Linked DNA regions of Homo sapiens: regions 2 and 3 are each linked to region 1. Evidence: promoter capture Hi-C in human tissues and cell types (Jung and others, 2019). All regions are on one chromosome and are shown on one strand. The core of a region is centred on a gene start or on the middle of the fragment in contact, and the rest is flanking DNA. Distances in the headings are between cores, read along the strand shown. Region 1 holds the start of DEPDC1 (DEP domain containing 1). Region 2 overlaps LRRC7 (leucine rich repeat containing 7). Region 3 overlaps LRRC7 (leucine rich repeat containing 7).

Region 1 (2,700 bases), core at 121-2,620:
CAGCTCTAGCTCTGCCACTATTGTTTATGACTTTTTGGGCCTATCTTCAATCTCTATGCCTCAATCTCCTTAACCACAAAACAGGGACAAAAGGACCTAACGAATGGGCTTATTGGAATGATAAAATGATGTAATATATGTGAAGTACTAGTAAGCATTCAGTGCATGTTTTCTTTTTCAGCGTGCTTATACTACTTTCATCTAATGGGTTTTAAATAATGTGGCAGGACTACTGATTGAGGTTCCTTCCTGTCCTAAATTCTATCCTTCATATTGGTAAATATAGCCAATAACTTACTAAGTAGCAGAATCCATGTAAGATCGCCATACCAGGAAGATCTGAATTCTAGCTCTGCCACTTGCTGTTGATGTGACTCTAGAGGGCATTTAACGTCTGTGAGCCTCAGTGTGCACCTGATAAAGTAGGGCTAATAATACATGCTCGTCTGAAGGGCATTCCTAAGAGGAAAATGCTTGTTATTCTGCAGATCACAACACACTTTAAAAAACAGCATCCTCCTGGGAAACCCCTTAAGGCAAGCATGTATTAGTAACCTTTACCAATGTGGAAACAGGCTCACAGAAGGTAGGGGACTCACCTAACGTCACATAACCAGCACCACAGTATCCTATAGAACCGAAGACCCAACTGCACAAAACGCGTTAGGAGTGCTGTACGTGCAATTCAGGGACCACCAGCAGTGGTTACTGATGGGTACTCAGAAATACCGTTTTGAAACAGGCAGCTGTTATCCTAGTGCTATTCGGCCGATACATCCTGCGTTAAATTCTATGGGTTCAATAAACAAAATTGCCACATTCGGGCTTGCCCCCCACCTAACCCTACAAAGCTTTGGACCTCATTCCCAATTGTTCCCTAATTCTGAGGCGGGTAGAAAATCAGGCGAGGTGAGCGGCCAAATCGGAATATTCTAAGACGCCCCCACGGGACGCCGGCCACACCAGGCACAGGAGTCGCTCCTCATAGCGAGTCTGGTGCGGCCTACGCGCGGCGCTTCCTTTCGGACCTGAGGCCCAGACCCTCAAAATAGAGGGAGCGGTGAGTCTGGCAAGGGTTGCATACCCGCTACTTCTCCTCGCCAGCCTTTTCACTGAACCTAGGGATCCTGGGACTCATCCCTCCGACCGAGGTAAAACTGCGAACGGTCGAGGTAAAACTGCGAACAGTGGTGACTGCCGTCAGCCCGCTGACCGGTCCCGTCTATCCGAGCTGTCTTACCAGCTTGGTGGCCCGATAAGGCCCGGGAGGCACACCCTGACTCTCCATAGGTCTGTCAGCGCCCGGTGGCGTCCATGGCGGCGAAGGCGACACTCAGGCCCAGCGGCCGCGGCAGTGGCGAGTCTCGGCACAACCGTTGGCCCCGCCGCCGATTTGAATAGCATAGAGGGCTGCGCGGATTGGCCGCGCCGCGGGTCACGTGACGCCACAGCCAGGCTCGGGAAGGAGTCGGCGAGGGCCGCTCGGCTGCGTCCTGGGGCTCCAGTAGCTGGCGCGGGCTGGGGTGGGCTGGGCTGGCCTGGGACCGCCTCGATGGGACAGGCTCGGGTTTCCCTGGCGCTGTTTCTCCCTCCTGCGGTCTACGGCGAGGCGGAGTCACAGAGTCCTGTTTTCGTGCTCAGAGGGGATGAGCTCTTTAGTTCCAAACGAAATTATTTGGAGTCCAGCCTTTGGTTTAAGGGAATTTGAAATTTGAAAAGACAAGAAAATACGGTTTTTCTGCCTGGCCCTACAGGATCTTCAGCAGTTAGCTTAGAAGGCAAAGCAACCTGATGGATATGTGTCGCAGTTTCTCTCTCTGCTGCCTATCCTCTCTCTCAGCAGGTGCCATGATTCTCTGAAGTGCTAAAATCTAGGTTCAGAACCCCCTAATTGTGCAGTAAAATGGATCATTCAGAACCCCCCAGTTGGGTAATAAAATGGATTATAGGTAGTCTTTCTTAAGTACATACAATGTGGGGCTTGGGAAAGGTTGTGTACAACTTGTCAAATTGCTTCCCTTAAACTCTACCACTGTATAAGAATGTTGGTTATGTTTGGATCGTGATTATACACTTAAAATTTCACTAGGATCTTAGAAAATAAATCTTCAACAGAAGTCAATTTTCAAATGACAAAAACTACATTCCGAGAGTTGAAGAGACTTACTCAGTCTTAGGTCTCCTTGGCAAAGCACAGACTTCATGCTTTTAATAAATACCCTGTCACCAGTCTGAAACTATCTGATGCTAAGAATCCCTTAGTAAAGTGGGAGATTGCTTGAGTGATTTGAAGCTGTGGAAGAATTCACTTGGAAATTAAATAGCAGTTTAAGAGGATAGGATGCAGTAAAAAGAAGAGATAAAGAAAAATGTTCAGGGAGTGGTAGTGTAGGTCTGTGGAGTTTTCCTTAATTTGGGCAGAAGCACATCTATTTTCTACCAGGACCAGTGGGTAGGAATTTTCAAAAACATACTTGGTAAACAGGAACAATCTACTCAATTTTCCACTTATGTTAAGGAAAAGTAAAATGATTGATGTTACAAAATAATGTTAACTGTTTCTTACCTGGCTTTATGATACATTGTCCCAGGATTTTCGTTTTTCTTTTCTTTTTCCTTTCAGAAGGAAATGGAGATGAGACTGTGGAAGCCAAAATTTATTTTTGCCCAGCTCCCCAAGTTGAAAATCATCTCACATAC
Region 2 (2,816 bases), core at 139-2,638, 1.6 Mb after region 1:
AAATAATATTTCATTATATAGATATATACCACATTTTGTTTATCCATTCATCAGTTTATTCTTGGAATGTCAATTAAAATCTTATCACAATCATGTTTAAAATCTTTCAGTAGCACCTGAAATTAGTAAGAAGGTTTATGAAAGGCCATCTTAATCTTGCCCTAACCTACTTTTTGGCCTGATCCTCTGCTGCGCTCCCAATCCCATCCACTACCACCCTTCCATCAGCACTCCAGCCATAGCAGAACCACTTGAAATTTCCCAGATATAACAGGCACACTCACTTATGTGCTGTCCCCTCTCTCTGCAATTTCCTTCTTCCCCTTACCTGTGTGGATGACTTTTGTGTGTTCTTTGTTATTCAGCTATCAGGTATCTTCTCCTCTTGGAAGAACCTAACACACAAATATAAGCTGGGTGCAACATATTTTTACAATCTGTTATACCTCTATCATAACACTTGTCACAATGTTTATAATTATTGGTTTTCTTGACTTCTCCTCCACTAGATTGTGAGCTCATTAAAGTCAGAAACTATATTCTGTCTATCTCTATATCATGAGCCATCCAGGCCTAGCATGTGATAGACATTCAATATATGTTTTCTTTCTATACATGGTCAATGAAATTAATTTGACTTTCTTATAAACTGCATTAATCAATTTAGGGATTTTATAACCACATAGTCATAAACTTTATTTAAAATGCATGTTCCAGTTTGCTTATGTTTAATTTGTTCATATACATTTTATATTAAAATTCTCAGTAACATATGAAACAATATGCATTAAAATAAACCAGTCGTATATATAATTCTAGTAAAGCTTTTAAAGTATACAATGAACTTATAACCTATCAAATAGAGATACTTTTTCAAATACCTTCAACTGCCTTTAATGGAGACATAGTTAAGTAGAATAACTGAAGACAAATTCAGAATTTATACAAAAAATGATTCAGCATCACATTTCAAATGATTTAAGGAAAAAATCATTAAGAATATGCCATGAGATCAATTTATAAATCATAATTGCACTTTCAAAACAAGATAAGCTTCTTTTTGCAAGCAAAAATGTTGCTTCTCTTAAACTTGACTTGGAGAGTGCTGCCTTGCTTAAAATACTATAATATTCTTTGAAGCCTACATGCATAAACTGTTTCTGGATCTGTTTTCACTGTTTTCTATGTGAATGAAGATTTGTTTAAGTAGGCCTGGTTCTTGGTAATAGAATCCTAACCTCTGTTACTTCTGACTTATAGGGTATCTTTGTTACTAGGGTTCAGCCTGATGGGCCAGCATCAAACCTACTGCAGCCTGGTGATAAGATCCTTCAGGTAAGACAGATAAAAGAAATGCATGCAAATGCCATACTGAGACAAATATGTAACCATGTTACCAAGTTAAATGATTTGAATTAAATGATTGAAAATAAGTCCTTCTCACATTGCTTATTTGCCTTTATTATTTTGGGGCTGAAAGTCAAGTCAAAAACAATTCAGTCTGACAAATCTTATATCCCTAGCACCTTACACAGTACTTGGCACATGACAGATGTTTTGCATATTTTTGTTGAATTGAATGGAATTACTTGATAATATAAGAAATATATATATTATATATATATATTAATCTATGCATAGTTATCAAGTAAGAGTAAGTTCCCAAACACAGTATGTGTGTGACTTTCATGAGGGAGAAGGAACTGGTCCATATTTAATTTCTCAACCACAGGCTTATTACTGTTTGAATGCTATGAAATATATAATACATCATTCTACTCCCCCTGCTTAGATAAACAAAAGTTTAGCTCTATATAAGGTGACTTTTAAAAATGCATTGTGTGATGGAAGATGACTTTCACTAACTTAAAGCTCTGCATATCAGAAAAGGTTCACCCCAATAAACAATTAAGCAAATACTTTACATAAACTCATTTATTTGACTTTTTTTGTCCTTCTCTCTGAATTCACTGTCTTTAATTTTTTGCTTTGTTTCTTATCAGTGATTTGAAGCTCATTAATTCACTTCCTATATAAGAGGTGCATAATCATTTTCTACATTCCAAGGAAAAGCTCTTAAGCATTATCGATGTATTTAAGCTTCAGTATTTTGACTTAGAACCCCAGAAATTTCCCGTTATATAAATAGGTGGAACTACTTGATACTGCTGATATTTGACCATCTGCAACAGTTATGAAATGGCTCAACATAATATACTGAACATTTAGATTCACTGAGAAGACAAGACATGTGAAAAGAACCTTAGATCAGCTATACAAACACAGTTGACATGTGAAAAAGGAACCTTAGATCAACTATACAAACACAGTTTAAAAATGCAAGGATCCCCTCAAGTCAGCTCCAAGGAGATCTTCTATCTCCAATGTACTGCGTTCTCTCAGAAAGTCCTAGAAAAGTAGAAATCCTAAGATTGCTTTAACATTTCATTCTCAGAAATGTTTTTTGGTTTTTTTGTTGTTGTTGTTTGGTGGTGGTGTTTTGTTCTGTTGTTGTTGTTGTTTTGTTTTTGTTTTTGTTTTTGTTTTGAGACAGCCTTTCACTCTTATTGCCCAGGCTGGAGTGCAATGGCACGATCTCGGCTCACCACAACCTCCACCTCCCGGGTTCAAGCAATTCTCCTGCCTCAGCCTCCCAAGTAGCTGGGATTACAGGAATGCGCCACCACACTCAGCTAATTTTTGTATTTTTAGTAGAGACAGGGTTTCTCCATGCTGGTCAGGCTGATCTCGAACTCCCAACCTCAGGTGGTCTGCCCGCCTTGGCCTCCCAAAGTGCTGGGATTACAGACATGAGC
Region 3 (2,791 bases), core at 56-2,555, 1.6 Mb after region 1:
ACTTCCTGGCCTCTAGCCCTACCCATTGCCCAGGTGGACGTTATGTTTTTAGTTTTTCCTTTGTGGGTGAGGGAAGAAGAGGACATCAGGTGAAGTGTGCCATTACTATTTGAAAACTAGCTCTGCAGGAAGGGTTAAATCAAATCCTTTACAGGGTGACCTTCCTACATCTCCTTAGAGCAACTGCATTTCAAAATAGGCCAAAGCTGAAGTCATAGGAATGAGACATTAATTGTAGGTTTTCAGGAAAGCTTCGGAGACACGGCAGGTACAGTCTCCTTAGAGCCTTTGAAAATACAACATGTAGGTCCTTCTCAGATTATGCTGAAACTCCAAATCCTTGTTAAAGGTTTTCCTGGACTCCTACAGTCTGGTTTGATCAGTTTATTATTAAGTACTGAATGACAGAGAAGGGTACACAGGGAGGACTTGTATCACATGAAGTAAAATAATTATTTCCTTAATGAGAAACTTAATTCTAGGGTACTTACAATAGCTGCCTTATTGGGGGAAGGGAGGCATAGATTTGCAAATGGTGGGTTTTTTCGTTTTTTTGTGTGTTGGAGTAATTGAAAAGATACATCAAGCAATAATAAACTAGATGTGCAATAATCTTGTCGAGTAGTATGTGCTGGTTTTGGAAAGGTGAAAAGAAAATTGTTACATCAGGCTGCTTTTATCAAGCTAAGCATGGGCATGCCTTTCCAAAGGGTATATTTGATCCTACAGTTAATTTTAACATTGGGCTGCAAGCTTAACCTCATCAGGAGTGGAATTAGATTTTACAAAGTTCCCCTTATCCAAACTACAGCACGCTTACTACTTTCTCCTTCCATTTTCCACACCTCAGCCCCCTAGGACCAGCTACTGGTAAGTCATTTTGTCCATTTTCATTGATCTGGCCACATAAGGAACATCCTGTTTCTTTAAATCCTCAATGCTTAAATTGCCATGTAGAAATCAACTCCCTATCAATTTTCTACATTTAATCCTTGGCTTCTTGTCATATTTTCATTTTTCTGCACTGGTTCCCATGGCAACAAGTCTGTTGGCAGAGAAAGTATGACTCTGCTTTTAGCCTTCTGCACAAGACAAAATCCTTCTGGTGATCCTCAGGCAAGTATAATATAAAAAGTCAGGAATTGACTACAGTTCCCTTGGCTAATGCCTCTAATCCTTTACTCTCTTGCATGCATTTTCCACCTTATTCCCAAACCAGGCTTGAGAAAAAAAGCATTCAAGGGCCCTGCCCAGTATCTCTTTACTGATACAAGTATTCAAAGGCCCTCCTATCCAATCACAGCCACAAAGACTGAATATTTTGGTTCAGATGGCTTTCCCTTCTCCCTAAGTGTCAGTGACTTAACTGACATAAATGCATAATTAATGACAAGGACCACTGGGAGCAGCATCGAGAAGCAACTTTCAGTCATTTTTCTATAAACAACTTTCCTCAGTTCGCAACTGAGGTGTAGCCCAGGGAATAAGTATGTCCTGAATTGAGCCTTAAATCAGTGACTAATAAGGCAATGGAACACTCAAGCAGATTTTCCTCTAATGAGTAGTTAAGTGGCACAGGAGGAGAGGCCAAGGAGTCATCCCAGAGTTCTAAGCTCATAAAGAGGAAGAGATAACAAAAGATGTAGATAAGAGGACATTGTTAACTGGTGGCTGCAAATGAGCAAGGGAGCTTCATTCAGTTGGGACAATTCAGGGTTCAGGTACGAAAAGGGTATGAAGCCTACTGAAAAATAAGGAAATGGAGCATGGAGAAAGAAAGGGTTTTTAAGAGTTAAGTCAGTAGAAAGGGAGCCTGCAAATGAGACAATAGCTTCATGCAGACTTTGGCCCAACTCTGTCTACAAATACTTTTGCAAATAATGTTTCTCTTAATAAAATGATATATTTTGTTTTGAACTTTGGAATTCCATTGTGGCTTGGCACTAAATTATAGGCCTAGCAATCCTAAATCTCCTATGTCCTCAATATCTAGAAACAAGCAGGAACTGTTTGTCAGAAATTAAACAGGACTTATTTGAATGTGCTTTAAAAAAAAAATCAATGAATTCAGGGGAATGAAAATACATGTTAGAAATTAAAATGTGGTTATCTCAGCTATAGTTAAGAAAATTATCAAATGTAAATGATCCCTTTTTTGCTGGATCTTATAAAATATGTGATACTTAAGTACACTGAAGTTTTAAAGTTAGCTGCTTATATTGTACAAAGATATTTTTGGCTCTTTAAAGGTTATTTTCCTATATTAAGAAAAGGTTTCTTATATTGAAAACTTTTATGGTGACTCAGGTTTTGTGTCTATGTATAGGCACACATAAATAGGAGGTGTTTTTCTTTGCACATTTGTTTTGCACAGCTAAAATAATGAGGTTAAATAATGCCCAGGTATGCAGGTCAATTGACCTTTTTAATAGCTTAACGAAAGCATTTGACAAATGGACAAAAGAAATCACATTGTATTTCTTTGTATCTCTCCATTCCTCTTACCCTTCCCCAACCCTCTACTAAAGAATATTTCTTATTTAGTCAGGAAATCTTATGTAATATTTTTGGACGGTCCATAGGAAAAGCAAGATGAAACTCTCAGGCAGACAACATAAAGCAGCTCCCATATCTGCTAGAAAGGTCATTAATTTTCAGAATATATTGTTGAAATAATTTTTATTTTCAATACTTGTAGTCTTTCCACTCAGAGGACTCTTATTTGGCTTGAATGTGGAAAAGGCATCTGGTTCAGGTCAGTAAGGACTGTTGTATGTAAGTTTTACTCTAG

What was found. The method cuts DNA at HindIII sites, captures the fragments that hold promoters and counts their contacts. A contact is called where the count stands out against the background at its distance.
Region 2: a fragment that was not itself captured here is called in contact with the fragment with the promoter of DEPDC1 in region 1 in 1 of the 25 tissues and cell types used here (dorsolateral prefrontal cortex).
Region 3: a fragment that was not itself captured here is called in contact with the fragment with the promoter of DEPDC1 in region 1 in 2 of the 25 tissues and cell types used here (dorsolateral prefrontal cortex and spleen).

What each region holds. Positions count from the first base shown.
Region 1 is chr1:68,495,712-68,498,411 of GRCh38, forward strand. It overlaps DEPDC1 (DEP domain containing 1), which reads right to left and starts at 1,371. Exons shown (of 12, transcript NM_001114120.3): 1 at 1,241-1,371. The coding sequence starts at 1,288. It overlaps DEPDC1-AS1 (DEPDC1 antisense RNA 1), which reads left to right and starts at 965. Exons shown (of 3, transcript NR_110671.1): 1 at 965-1,060. RefSeq lists enhancers at 1,052-1,101, 1,212-1,271. The HindIII fragment of the contact is 14,129 bases long and covers 1-2,700 here.
Region 2 is chr1:70,106,492-70,109,307 of GRCh38, forward strand. LRRC7 (leucine rich repeat containing 7) reads left to right here. Exons shown (of 27, transcript NM_001370785.2): 26 at 1,261-1,335. Among named protein-coding and RNA genes, the nearest start is that of LRRC7-AS1, 66 kb to the left of the region's middle. The HindIII fragment of the contact is 3,848 bases long and covers 1-2,816 here.
Region 3 is chr1:70,139,499-70,142,289 of GRCh38, forward strand. LRRC7 (leucine rich repeat containing 7) reads left to right here. Exons shown (of 27, transcript NM_001370785.2): 27 at 1-2,791. Among named protein-coding and RNA genes, the nearest start is that of LRRC40, 65 kb to the right of the region's middle. RefSeq lists an enhancer at 1,266-1,767. The HindIII fragment of the contact is 4,443 bases long and covers 1-2,791 here.